Linked DNA regions of Homo sapiens: all the other regions are linked to region 2. Evidence: promoter capture Hi-C in 16 types of primary human blood cells and fetal thymus (Javierre and others, 2016). All regions are on one chromosome and are shown on one strand. Each heading gives the region's core, a stretch centred on a gene start or on the middle of the fragment in contact. The rest is flanking DNA. Distances are from core to core; before and after follow the strand shown. Region 1 holds the start of ZBTB45 (zinc finger and BTB domain containing 45). Region 2 holds the start of TPGS1 (tubulin polyglutamylase complex subunit 1). Region 3 holds the start of VRK3 (VRK serine/threonine kinase 3).

Region 1 (3,963 bases), core at 1,165-3,664, about 58 Mb before region 2:
CGCCATTGCGCTCCAGCCTGGGGGACAAGAGCGAGACTTTGTCTCAGAAAAAAAAAAAAAAAAAGTAGAGACGGGGTTTCACCATGTTGTCCAGGCTGGTCTCAAACTCCTGACATCAGGTGATCCACCCGCCTCGGCCTCCCAAAGTGCTGGGATTACAGGTGTGAGCCACTGTGCCCAGCCTAGACTTGTGTTTTAATGAGGTTTCCCACCTGGTACATATTTTCCTCCCCCTGACCTCCAAATACCACATCTACAACACAATCACCCAGTAGCTGTCCTGGGTGAAGGACAGGCATCCTGACCCTGTCTGTCTTCTGGAGGCTTTGTTCTAGTCATGCGTTTGGACAGTTGGTTCCCTCTTTCACTGCCGAGTCCCTCTGTCCTCTGGGATAGGGGAAGTGAGAACTGCTCCCTGAGGAATGAGATCACGAAGGGGCCTGGTAAAAGCTGGGAAGGCACAGAAATAAAGCTTTCAGTGAGGGAAATGTGAGGAATGCGTTCATCAGATGGGAAACAAATAGTGGCATTTATTGGACTCTCACTGTGTGGAGGCCCTGGATCTCACCAGATGTATTTGTTTTCTATCGTTACTATAACAAATTACCAAAACTCCATAGGTTAAAACAATATCCATTTATTAGCTCACCATTCCATAGGTCAGAAGCCCAAGTAGGTCTTCTGTGGGTCTCATAAAGGCTAAAATCAAGGTGTGGTATGGACTAAGCTGCTATCTGGAGGCTCTGGGGAAGAATTTGCTTCCAAGCTCATTCAGGTTGTGGGCGGAATCTAGCTCCACGCACTTCTAGGGCTAAGGTCTGTTTTCTTTTCTTTCTTTCTTTTTTTTTTTTTTTTTTGAGACTGAGTGTCGCTCTTTCGCCCAGGCCCGACTGCAGTGGCGCTATCTTGGCTCACTGCAAGCTCCGCCTCCCGGGTTCACGCCATTCTCCTGCCTCAGCCTCCTGAGTAGCTGGGACTACAGGCGCCTGCCACCGCGCTCGGCTAATTTTTTTTTGTATTTTTAGTAGAGACGGGGTTTCACCGTGTTAGCCAGGATGGTCTCGATCTCCTGACCTCATGATCCGCCCGCCTCGGCCTCCCACAGTGCTGGGATTACAGGCGTGAGCCACCGCGCCCGGCCTTTTTTTTTTTTTTTTTTTTTTTTTTTTTTTGAGACGGAGTCTCGTTCTGTCGCCCAGGCTGGAGTGCAGTGGCGCGATCTCAGCTCACTTCAAGCTCCGCCTCCCGGGTTCATGCCAGTCTCCTGCCTCAGTCTCCCGAGTAGCTGGGACTACAGGCGCCTGCCACCACGCCCAGCTAATTTTCTGTATTTTTAGTAGAGATGGGGTTTCACTGTGTTAGTCAGGATGGTCTCGATCTCCTGACGTGATCCACCCGCCTTGGCCTCCCAAAGTGCTGGGATTACAGGCATGAGCCACTGCGCCGGGCCATGAGGTCTGTTTTCTTGCTGGCTGTTGTTGCAGCTCTTCTCAGATTCTCAGCATGACACCTGTCCTGTTGCATTTCCTCTCATGGACCTCTCTACCTTCAAAGCCTCTGGAACCCTTCTCCTACTTCAAGTTTCTCCACCTTCCTCTTCTGCCTTTAAGGACCCTTATGATACCTTGGACCTACCAAAATAATCCAGAATCATATCCTATTTTAAGATCAGCTAATGAGTAACCTTAATTATTTCCGCAAAAACCCTTTCACCATGTAGTGTAACTATTCATAGGTGAGATAATCATATTTACAGGTTCTGGGGATTTGGGCACGGAAATCTCGGAGGGGGCCATTTTCGGAATTCTGTCCCCCATACCAGATTGACTTGCAATGTCCCAGAATCTCACAGGGTCTAGCTCAGGGGAGGCCCAGAGCAGGGTGAGGCAGTTGTCTATTCCTGTCTGCGTTGTAGTAGAAGGTGCCAAGGCCGAGATGGGGTCCTTTCCCCAGTCCCACCCACAGCGGGCGGGCCTGGAGCGTCTGCAGTAGTGGTAGCTTGCTTGCACCTCCTGGCGGCCAGGGACCGAGACCTACTTCAGCTCTCACCCGTGTCACAGGAATAAGGCCACTTCCCCGGTTCGCAGTGGGGTTTAAACTGGCCAGAACACGTTGGGCACTTGGGCCGGGAACTGCCTTCCCATTCTGCATCACAGGGAGCTTGCGGATTGATCGCGCAGGCCCGCCACACCCCTGATCTCCTGGGCGACGCCGGAAGAGTGCTCTGGTCCAGACATTCCTCGCGACGCGGCAGCCCTAGCCTCTTCGACTTTGGTTCCGACTAAGAGGAGAGCCGGAGTGCAGACTGGCGGGAGCTGATCGCCATAAAAATACCGGAAACGTGCTTCGGCCTAGGGTTTCCCCTGCGCCGCCGCGACCGCAGGCCTCCGTTCCGCCGGGGTAACGGCCCGGAAGTGCGGCCTTGTAGTCGGTCAGGAGGAAGCGGCCACGGCAGAGCCTGGTGCCTGAAGAGGAGTCGGAGGTGGGGTCGAATGGGCATCCCCCTGCCGCAGGGCGGGCGAGGAGGCTGGGGCGTGCCAGGGGAGGGGCACCTGCGCTCCGCTAGAAGCGCACGCTGAGAACGCGAGGGGGCGCTGCAGGACCGGGGTACGGCGGGGGCCAGAGTGCGGGGTGGCAGCGGCGGGTCAGAGGGGTGCTTTGGGCGTAGGGTGGGGCGCGGGCAATGGAGCAGAGTATGGGAGAACGCGCTCGGAGTAAAGCACACGGCGCGGCGAAGGCGTGGCGGGAGTGTGCGGCGCCGGACCCGGGAAGCTGGCCTGGGCGCCGGGTCTCGAGTGCAGGCCTTTGTTCTGAAGTGTCCAGGCCGGCCTTGCGGCGTCGGGACTGAGGAATGGAGCCCGTCGCGGGGCGGGGCGGGAAAGGAAGGTTCAAGTCTCTCGGGTTGATGCGCAAGTTTCCGTCCCCATCGGCCGGACAGATTAGAATCCTTTCAGGTGCTAGGTGAATACAGATGGGGCGGTGCTGCTTGCTGAGTTAGCCTTTGCGCGGGCACAGGCCTGGCTTTTTTGAGGCATTGCACAGAAGGCTCAGAACAGGGCCAGGGAGCGGGGTGGTGTATCCGGATCCGTAGTCTGGAAAAGCTCCCTCTGGCTGCCGTGTGGGGAACAGAAGGGGAGGCGAGGGGCGCAGAGACACCAGCCAGGTTTCTTCATCCGTCCAGGACAGCGGGAACGGGGCAGTGGAGGTGCTCGAAGTGGTCTGAGGGTCAAATGTGGGGCATGCAAAAAAGGGAGGCGTCTGGCTGAGCAAAGGGACGGCGGATTGGGCATAAGGAGTCGGAGGGGTTGAATCTTGAGACCCCAGTAGAGCCCGAGGGTGTAGGGGCAGCATCAAGCCGAGCCCACCCTGGGGCTTTGTGACTCCAAGGGAGAGACAGGCTGGTGGAGCCTATACGGATGTCAGAGTCCAGAGCTCCTACCCTCCTCCCTTAGACTGGAGGTGTGTGCAGTCTGGGTGCGGGATGAGCCGAGTATCTCATCCCTTGTTTGATAGAAGGGGAAACAGGCCGAAGGATCACGGTTTACCTGCTTGATGGATGGAGTAGCAGAACTCCTCAGATTCCAGAGTCCTCTGAGGACTACCCCCTCCCCTTTCTGGTGCCTGATGTTGGGCCGTGTCCCCGATTACTCCATGGGCAGCTATCCAGTCACACACCCCTGCTCAATCCACACTTCCCCTCTCTGTGCCACACCCACACCCTGGGCCCCACAGGCCCCATCGAGATGGCAAGAAGCTGGGGCTGCAGGAGCCACCTCCCTGCTCGCTATGCTAGGGGCTGCCAGGGAGCATGTACTGGTTTCCCTGGGGCATCTCCCAAGGTACTGCCCAACCTTTTACCCTCAGCCCTTAGTGACTAGGCACACCCAGAACCACCCTGCCCAGGAAGCAGGTCATGCCACCCCACTCCTGCGAGAGCCTCTGTATATACTAGTTAAGGTGACC
Region 2 (4,175 bases), core at 168-2,667:
GCCTTCAGAGCCACTGGGCCACCGGAGCAAGTCTGCTCCTTGTCCAGGTACCCAACACCCTGCCACCCTTATCTGAGTATGATCTTGGACACCTGTGCACCCTGAACGTGGTAGGGGGGACACTCCCCATCTCTCTTCTCCCCCCGAACTTCTCTGGGACTCTGGCGAGGGCTGCCATGGTGGGCGCTTATGCCCTGGTTATGAGGCTGAAAGGGCACCTTTGCTTGGCATCCTTCCCTGCCTGCTCTTCCCACCCCCTTCCTGGGTTCTCTTGGGCGCACCCCCTTGTAAAATCACCTGCACACACAATGCCTACCTCAGGCTCCGCTTCTGGGGACCCCCCCCCCAACAAAAGACATCAGCCCATCCATCCCCAACGCCAACAGATAGTCCCCAACCACCTTCCCTGGGCTCAGAACTGGCCCCAGCCAGGGGACACCGCGCGTAGGCACCTGCAGCCTCGCATGCTTCAGCCAAATTCCGTGGCTTTCCCGCCTCCCGTGTGCCCCACACTCGGGGTCTAAATTTGCACCTGCTGGGCCTCTTCCCTGCAACCCGCCCGCACATCGCCAGGCTCTTCCAGGAATCCCCACCTGCCCGCTGGGAGCCTGTCCCCTAAGATGGGGGCCCTGGGTGACTGCGCTGCTCTCTGTAAATATTCACGTTCTGGCTGAATGGACGGGGATAACATGAGGCTGCTAAGGAGGCGACTAGGAGGACCTGGCTCGGGGGCTGGCTCTGCGACCTCGGGCCAAGTCCTCTTGAGCTGCACGATTTTGAAAATCATGAACTGCAAGGGGAAACTCAGCACCTGCAAAAAGGCATCACAGAAGGCGAAGCCGGCCAGAAGGACTCGCGCCGCATGCAGCGCGCTGCCTAGCGCCGGACCGAAGCCCGGACCCTCCAGCCCACCTTGTCCGATCCATCCCACCCAAGAAGGCATCGCGCACTACAACTCCCAGCAAGCCCCGGGCCCCTGCGCCGGCGCTGCGGGTAGGGAGCCGCGCGCGGCATGCTGGGAGTTGAAGTCCATCGCTGCCCCACCCGCCCAAGCCGGCCCACTGCGCACCTCTGGGAGTGGTGGGCCAGGCGAAGGTGCCATAGCGCGCGGCCCAGGCGCTGCTGCTGCAGCAGGAGCTGGCCCGGGGGCTCCCCGGCGCCGCCGTTTACAGGCGAGCGCAGGCCCATGTTCTCGAAGTAGTGAGCCAGGAAGGCGATCGGCTCCTCGGGCCGCGCCTCCAGCACCTTCAGCAGGGCCGCACGTAGCATTTCCGTCACGCCGACCTGCCGCAGGAAGTCCTCCTCGCTCTCGGCCGCCCCCGCCGCCCGGGATACCGACTGGCGGCCGCTGTCCGTGAAACCGGCCGGCGGTGGTACCGCTTGCCGCCGCTTCTCCACTGCCGCCATCTTCGCTGAGGGCAGCGGGACCGGAAGCACCGCCATATTCCACTGTGCGCTAGAGCCCCCCCAAGGCGGCCATCTTGATTAAGGGCAGAGGGCACCGGTATCCCGCTGGGAGACTTTGGGAAGTGACAAGGGTACGCTACCACTTTCCTTGTGTCCTTATTGGCACTCTCTCTTCTCCTCCCTCTTTGTGTATATTGATTGGCTCTCCTGGCTTTGGCCTCGGTCCTGAATTTTGCCAGACTCCAAAATGGCTGCCTCGGAAGTGCTTCGTTTCTGGCACAAAGCCGGATTGCTTGCCATTTGGGTAGTGAGCGAGTCCTTCATTAGCATGGTCTCCTAGCAACCAGTCTCCCTGGTTAGCAGAGAAGCCTGACGGAGCATGCGCGGGGCTGGACCTGCCCAGGACTGCTGGACCCAGCCCCGCGCCCGGCCCCCAGACCCTTTTCTCATGTTCATCTCTGAGCCTTGGTGCTGGGGGTCGAGCTCAGCCTGGCCTTCCGCCTAACTCAGTCAACGTCTGAGTGCGTAGCTCACCTCGTGGGAGAAGCCCCCTCCCCAGCTCCGCTGCAGCTGCGCTGAGCCCCTATTGGCGGCCACACGGGCGAGCATCCCGCGCTGTTACCCCCTGACCGCCAGAGGGAGCTTTCTGACACCGCAGCCTCCAGAGCTGTAAACTCTGCCATGGCTCTCCAGGGCCCCCGGGCTGGCACCTCCAGGCCTTCATCGCCTGACCTCGCTTCCGGCCGCCCTCCCGGCCCTCCCAACCCTCCGCAGCCCGCAGCCACCTCAAAACACAAGCAGTCTCCTCCATAAGCCGCCTCTGGGTGTGTTTCCCCAGGCGACCTCTGTGGATCTTCCCTCACTGCTTTCGGGGACTCCTGGTTAAGCTTCTCACCGAGGAAACCACTAAGCCCTCGCGTTTCCCCGCCCCGGGCAGAGCTTGCTGGGTGCCGTCCCCGTCCCTCAGGGGCGTTGCCCCGGGCAGGGGGCAATGAGAGCTGTTTGCCGGGGGACCGTTCCACCATCCTCCCAGCACAGGAATCTCTGGCGGGCAGACCAAATGCCCTTTGTAAAACGTGAAGTAGAGGTTCCTCTTCAAATGAGACTTTCCTCCCCATCTAATTAGGAATAAATAGTAACTTCTCTTAGAAGCAAAATGTATTCAAAGGCCTGTGGTAGGCCGGGCGCGGTGGCTCACGCCTGTCATCCCAGCACTTTGGGAGGCCGAGGCGGGCGGATCACGAGGTCAGGAGATCGAGACCATCCCGGCTAACACGGTGAAACCCCGTCTCTACTAAAAATACAAAAAATTAGCCAGGCGTGGTGGCGGGCGCCTGTAGTCCCAGCTACTCGGGAGGCTGAGGCAGGAGAATGGCGTGAACCCGGGAGGCGGAGCTTGCAAGTGAGCCGAGATCGCGCCACTGCACTCCAGCCTGGGCGACAGAGCGAGACTCTGTCTCAAAAAACAAACAAACAAAAGACCTGTGCTAACATTCTTTGTTAATTAATTGTTAATGTTATATTGAATATATATAATGTAATAAGGAAATCAACATACTTTATGTTCTTAGTGCCCACAATGTAGGCTAAATATCTGCCCTGGCATGCTTATACTGGTCCAAGCAAGCATTAGGTCATAACCTGTTCCTCTTCCTTATTTGAAGGTGTTTTTACCTTTCTTAGCATTCCACAAGCTACTTCTTCCTTCCTTTGTTCTCCTCTGCCTTTGCCTCTTTTTAAAAGTTCCAAGCTGCTAGCCGATCGGGATAAATACAGAATGTGAGGTCCCGTTCCAGCCAATGGAAACCGTCCCGTTCCAGCCAATGGAAACCGGACAGAGCAGTAGGGTGGACGCGTCAGGTTATAAATGACCCTGTCTCCTTTGTTCTGGATACTCTCGTGGCAAAACTGCTGGCCAGTGTACCCTTTCTGCAGAAAGTAAAACAGTGGCCTTGCTGAGGAAATGACATTTATATTCAAGTGCTATTTCTTTACGGCACCGGGGAACAAGCATTTCTAACACTTTCTTCTCCAGCCCCGGACTGTGGGATGAGGGAGATGGAGCCATCAGGGCAGGACCCACAGTCAACCCTCTGCTGTCCGGAGCCCTCAGACCTCTCCTCTCCACGGAGTGGGTGTCAACTGAGAAAACTGACACGTTTGTATCATTTTAGGAGGTTTATTTGCCAAAGCCTCAGGAGGTCCTGACGACAGGGGCCCAGGGTGGTCAGGGCACAGCTTGGTCTTACGCATTTTTAGGGAGACGTGAGACATGAATCAATGTATGTAAAAAGTACGTGGTTCCGTCCAGAAAGGTGGGGACCACTCAGGGAGGGGCTTCAGGTCATGGGTAGGTGAGACAAACAGTGGCCTTCTTTTGAGTTTCTGATGAGCTTCTCCAAAGAGGCAATCAGAACATGCATCCATCTCTGTGAACAGAGGGATGACTTTGAGTAGAATGGGAGGCAGGTTTGCCCTGACCAGTTCTCAACTTGAAGGGGTCCAAGCTATTTTGCTTTCACAGGGGGAAAGGCTGGCCACTCAGGAGGGGCTGATCCCGACCTGGCCGGTCCCCCTTAACCCAGCCCAGGCCGACACCTGGGGCAGAAGCCTCAGAGAAGCTGGTGGGTGGGTGTCGTCCTCAGCCAGGTGCCGGCAGCGTTTCCAGAGGTGATAGGTGGGCAAGGCCAGGAGCAGCAGTCCCAGCACCGCACTGCTGGTCCACAGAGCCGCGGGCAGCTGGTCACCCGCAGGTTTGGACGCTGGGG
Region 3 (4,163 bases), core at 885-3,384, about 50 Mb before region 2:
GTGGAGCCCAAGGTCATCCAGCCCAGAGTGACTTAAGCCAAACAATTATCAGGCTGAGAGACCTTGGGCCCAAGAGTCTTGCCCTTCCTTCCAGACCATTTACCTTCTCTAAGCCTTAGTTTCCACATGTACCAAATGGAACAAATACAACAGATCTATGGTCCTTTAAATGCTCCAAAAACCAGAACTTGATTTATAAACTGACCGCAAAACTTCACCTGGATTGCCACAGGCCATGTAGGGTCTTAATGTTCTCATAAGTGTGAATATTCACACCTTGCCCCACAGAAACATTTTATGACCAAAAACTGGCCCAGATTCCTCGGGGTGTGGGGGGGTGCTGCCTAATTATAAAATATGCACCCTATTAGCTTTCTAAAATCTGAAAAATTCTGATTCCCGAGATTGCCTTGGTGCCAAGGGGACCTGCACTTATGTCTCAGTGCTGCTGCGGGGATCAGAAGAGGAAATGCAACTCCAGCAGGGCGCCTGGCACACAGAAAGCACTCAAATACTGTAAATGTTAAGTACTTCAACTTCCCGAAGAACTCCCATCCATCGTCCAGCAAGATTCTGCCTAAATTTGCCAACTTCAGGTAACTCATTCCCCTCCTTCCCCAACCAAAACCAAAATAAAACAGAACCACTCCTCTCAGGGCCATCAGGGAGGCCTGGAAACCCCTTTAGCAGTTTTCTTTTCTTTTCTTTTCTTTCTCAGCTCACTGCAACCTCTGCCTCCTGGGTTCAAGCAATCCTCCCACCTCGGCCTCCCAATTAGCTAGGAATACAGGGGCGCACCACCACGCCCGGCTAATTTTTCTATTTTTTTCTTCTTTTGTGGAGACAGGGCTTCACCATCTGGCCCAGGCTAGCCTCGAAATCCTGGGCTCAAGCGATCCGCCCACCTCAGCCTCCCAAGGTGGTTTTCTTCCTTTCTTTTTTTTTTTTTTTTTTTAAGATGTAGTCTCGCTCTGTCACCCAGGCTGGAGTGCAATGGCGCGATCTCGGCTCACTGCAACCTCCAGCTCCTGGGTTCAAGCGATTCTCCTGCCTCAGCCTCCTGAGTAGCTGGGATTACAGGCCCCCGCCACCACGCTCAACTAATTTTTGTATTTTTAGTAGAGACTGGGGGTTCGAGGAACTCCTGGCTGTAAGTGATCCCCCCCGCCAAGGCTTCCCAAAGTGCTGGGATTACAGGCGTGATCTACCGTGCCCAGACCTTGAGCGGTTTTCATAACAGACTGTGAAAGACGGTTCACACCTTCACCCTGACAACCGCCGCCCAAGGCGACGCACCCTTTGCCGAAGTCGCCCCCACTTGCATTCCGTCACCTCTCAGGAAGGACCGAGCCCGCAAGTCCCTCAGCCCCAGCGTCTCCGTACCTCGGGATTGTAGTCGGCCGCGTCAACAGACGCAACCCCAGCCTCAAGGGAGCGGGAGATTCAACTCCCCGCACACGCGCCTCCTCGCAGCGACTTCCTGTGCGCGAGAAGCTTCTCTGAGCGGCTGCACCCAGGATCCTCCGCGGCAGCGCCAGGACTCTATTTCCCAGAGGGCTGTGCGGGCGACTTCTTTCGCCTTCCCATCTCCTCCTGCTTCTTCAGCCTTAGCACTGTGGGAGTAGAGTAGAAAGAGAATCAGGACCAGGCGGCATCAGTTTGTAGTCCAGATTTTTACCTTGTTAAAGAATCATCTAATTAGCTTCTTGCCTTTACTAGAAGTCAGGGAGTGTTAACCTTTTCCGAAGAGCAAGCGGTAGGTTGCCATGGAAACGCGTTGTGACGGGTTTCTGAGAAAACAAGCGGAAGTAAGGGGCGGAGTTGAGGCAGAAGTTTAGGTAATGTGACCTCTGATTGGTGGAGAGGTACCTCACGGTGCATTCCGATTGGTCTGACACTGACACATGCGCAGTAGAACCAGAAGGCGTTCCAAAGCGGCTAGAACGGAGGGGAGGGGGATGAGCAATGAGGGAATAATCCCCATTCCGTCTGGAATCAGAGGGCGGGCCTGCCGCGGAGGCATCTGGGAAACGGAGTTCCCAGGCAGGCGAAGCCCAGGGGCCGTCAGGAAGTCAGCGGCGCCTGCGCGGGCGCCTCAGATTCAGGATGCGCGCGCAGCGCTCTCCGCCCAGCGGAAGTTTTCGCTGGGCAACTGAGAAGGTGAGTCCGGGTAACTGCGGAGGATCCGAGGGTCAGGCTGCAGAAGCCCAGAATCCCACCCCAGTCCCCAAGTACAGAGGTGAGGGGAAGCGAGGCGAACGAGGGGACGTCCCCCGACCCCCTAGCCGCAGCTCGGCCGGGGCGTCCGTGACGTCAGCACGACCGTTTGTGGGAGGCGGAGGCCCCTGCTGTCGGGGTTCGGAATGAGAGCGGCTCCGGGTCGCGGGGTTCACTGGCCTCCTCTTGAGCTTCCCAAGCCACCTTGGGCTCCGTGTTGGGCATGGCTAAGGCGGAGATGGGCGGAACTTGTGGGAAGTTCGACAGCTCCTCCGCTGTGAAACTTGGCGTCTAAGTCATCCCGTGGTTTCTATGGAGGTGCGGCCGAAGGGAGGCTCTGTCGTCGCCTAGGCAATCGCCCCACCTGCGCTGAGGTGGGGTCTGACTTTTAGCCTTTTTGCTGTGCTGTTTCCTGAACTTTCTAGGAGGAACACTATACAGTAGTTGACGCATAGCAGCTGTTCCCTAAACATTTGTTGAATAAGTCAAATAAATTAAGATAAAGACTGGCCTGAGGGTTGGAGTCTTAGGGTTTCAAGTCCTGACCTGGCCATTGCATAGGTGACTTCAGCACATCCAATTTTATTGAGCGTTTACTATATGGAAGGCTCCGTGCAACCGATATTACACTACTATAACCTGGGTTTGAACGGTGCTAGTCTAATAGGCACTGTTCAAGCCCAGGTTATTATAGCAGTGTCTAAAACAAAAATCCTGCCCAGCTAATTCACATTCTCAGGGTGGTTGGGGATGCCAGACACTAAAAAAGAAATGTTAAAGAATATTTACAGGTCTGCAGTCCCTTATCTATAACTTTAAAATCCAAAACGTTCTGAAAACTGAAAGGTCTTTTTCTCTGTTTTGCAACTTACTTGGCAGGCCAACCTCACCTGGCTTTGAACTTGTTTGCTGGCAATACCCACTCTGAACTGATGTGTGACTATTTAGAATTTTTAAAGATTTTGTTGTGCAAATCATATACTTATGGAGAGTTGCCCCTGGATCTCGCCGGTGTTGTAATATGTAATAGGTTCTAAAATCCAAAAAATTTGGCTGGGCACGGTGGCTCCCGCCTGTAGTCCCAGCACTTTAGGAGACCGAGGTGGGCGGATCACCTGGGTTCAGGAGTTCGAGACCAGCCTGGCCAACATGGTGAAACCCCATCTCTACTAAAAATAAAAAAATTAGCCGGGCATGGTGGCATGCGCCTGTAATCCCAGCTACTCGGGAGGTTGAGGCAGGGAGAATCGCTTGAACCCAGGAAGCGGAGGTTGCAAGTGAGCTGAGGTCGTGCCACTGCTCTCCAACCTGGGTGACATAGCAAAACTCTGTCCATCATGCAATACATGGCAGAAGCAAGATCCAAACCCAGGCAGATTATTTCCCAAGTTTATCCTCTTAACCCCTGTACTGATCTGCTTCTAAGTGGCACGTCTTTTTTAGGGACCATCCAGCTAGATAATTCCGGCCCTGAGCTTTGAGTCTCTGGCTGGATGTCTAGATTTGCCTGAGAGATGAATGTGTACTGACACAGCTGGGGACCCCCCCCACCCACCTTCTTGGCACATTTTCTTTTGCAAAGGAGACAATGATTTATTCACTCAGCAGACGTAGACCCAGCATTTGCTCTGTGCCAGGCCTGTTTGAGGCTCTGGGCACACTGTGGCAAACAAGGCAGGGAAAAGTCCCCGCCATCATGAAGCTTACATTCTAGTAAGTCAGAGTATGTCAGGTAGTGACAAGCACTGTGAAGAAAAATAAAGCAAGGTAAGGAGGATAAAACATGCTATTAGTAAAATGGTGTCCAGGGCCAGGCACGGTGGCTCGAGCCTGTAATCCCAGGACTTTGGGAGGCTGAGGGGGATCACCTGAGGTCAGGAGTTTAAGACCAGCCTGGCCAACATGGTGAAACCCCATCTCTACTAAAAATATAAAATTAGCCAGGC

What was found. Contacts are between HindIII fragments. The CHiCAGO score rates a contact against its expected background, and 5 or more counts as called.
Region 1: the fragment with the promoter of ZBTB45 here is called in contact with the fragment with the promoter of TPGS1 in region 2 in 1 of 17 cell types (M0 macrophages); the score reaches 8.7 in M0 macrophages.
Region 3: a contact is called between the fragment with the promoter of VRK3 here and the fragment with the promoter of TPGS1 in region 2, in 1 of 17 cell types (naive CD4 T cells). The highest score is 7.1, in naive CD4 T cells.

What each region holds. Positions count from the first base shown.
Region 1 is chr19:58,518,261-58,522,223 of GRCh38, reverse strand. ZBTB45 (zinc finger and BTB domain containing 45) reads left to right here and starts at 2,414. Exons shown (of 3, transcript NM_001316979.2): 1 at 2,414-2,482. RefSeq lists enhancers at 2,130-2,449, 3,507-3,963 and a silencer at 2,540-2,639. The HindIII fragment of the contact is 4,202 bases long and covers 475-3,963 here.
Region 2 is chr19:504,739-508,913 of GRCh38, reverse strand. TPGS1 (tubulin polyglutamylase complex subunit 1) reads right to left here and starts at 1,417. Exons shown (of 2, transcript NM_033513.3): 1 at 1,070-1,417. The coding sequence starts at 1,407. MADCAM1-AS1 (MADCAM1 antisense RNA 1) reads left to right here and starts at 1,025. Exons shown (of 3, transcript XR_936221.4): 1 at 1,025-1,538. MADCAM1 (mucosal vascular addressin cell adhesion molecule 1) reads right to left here. Exons shown (of 5, transcript NM_130760.3): 5 at 3,571-4,169. The coding sequence ends at 3,949. RefSeq lists enhancers at 1,272-1,611, 1,484-2,341 and a silencer at 2,142-2,271. The HindIII fragment of the contact is 8,539 bases long and covers 1-2,296 here.
Region 3 is chr19:50,023,343-50,027,505 of GRCh38, reverse strand. It overlaps VRK3 (VRK serine/threonine kinase 3), which reads left to right and starts at 2,134. Exons shown (of 15, transcript NM_016440.4): 1 at 2,134-2,239. ZNF473 (zinc finger protein 473) reads right to left here and starts at 1,501. Exons shown (of 5, transcript NM_015428.4): 1 at 1,384-1,501. RefSeq lists enhancers at 1,348-1,397, 1,808-1,857, 2,198-2,277, 2,327-2,828. The HindIII fragment of the contact is 2,425 bases long and covers 1,497-3,921 here.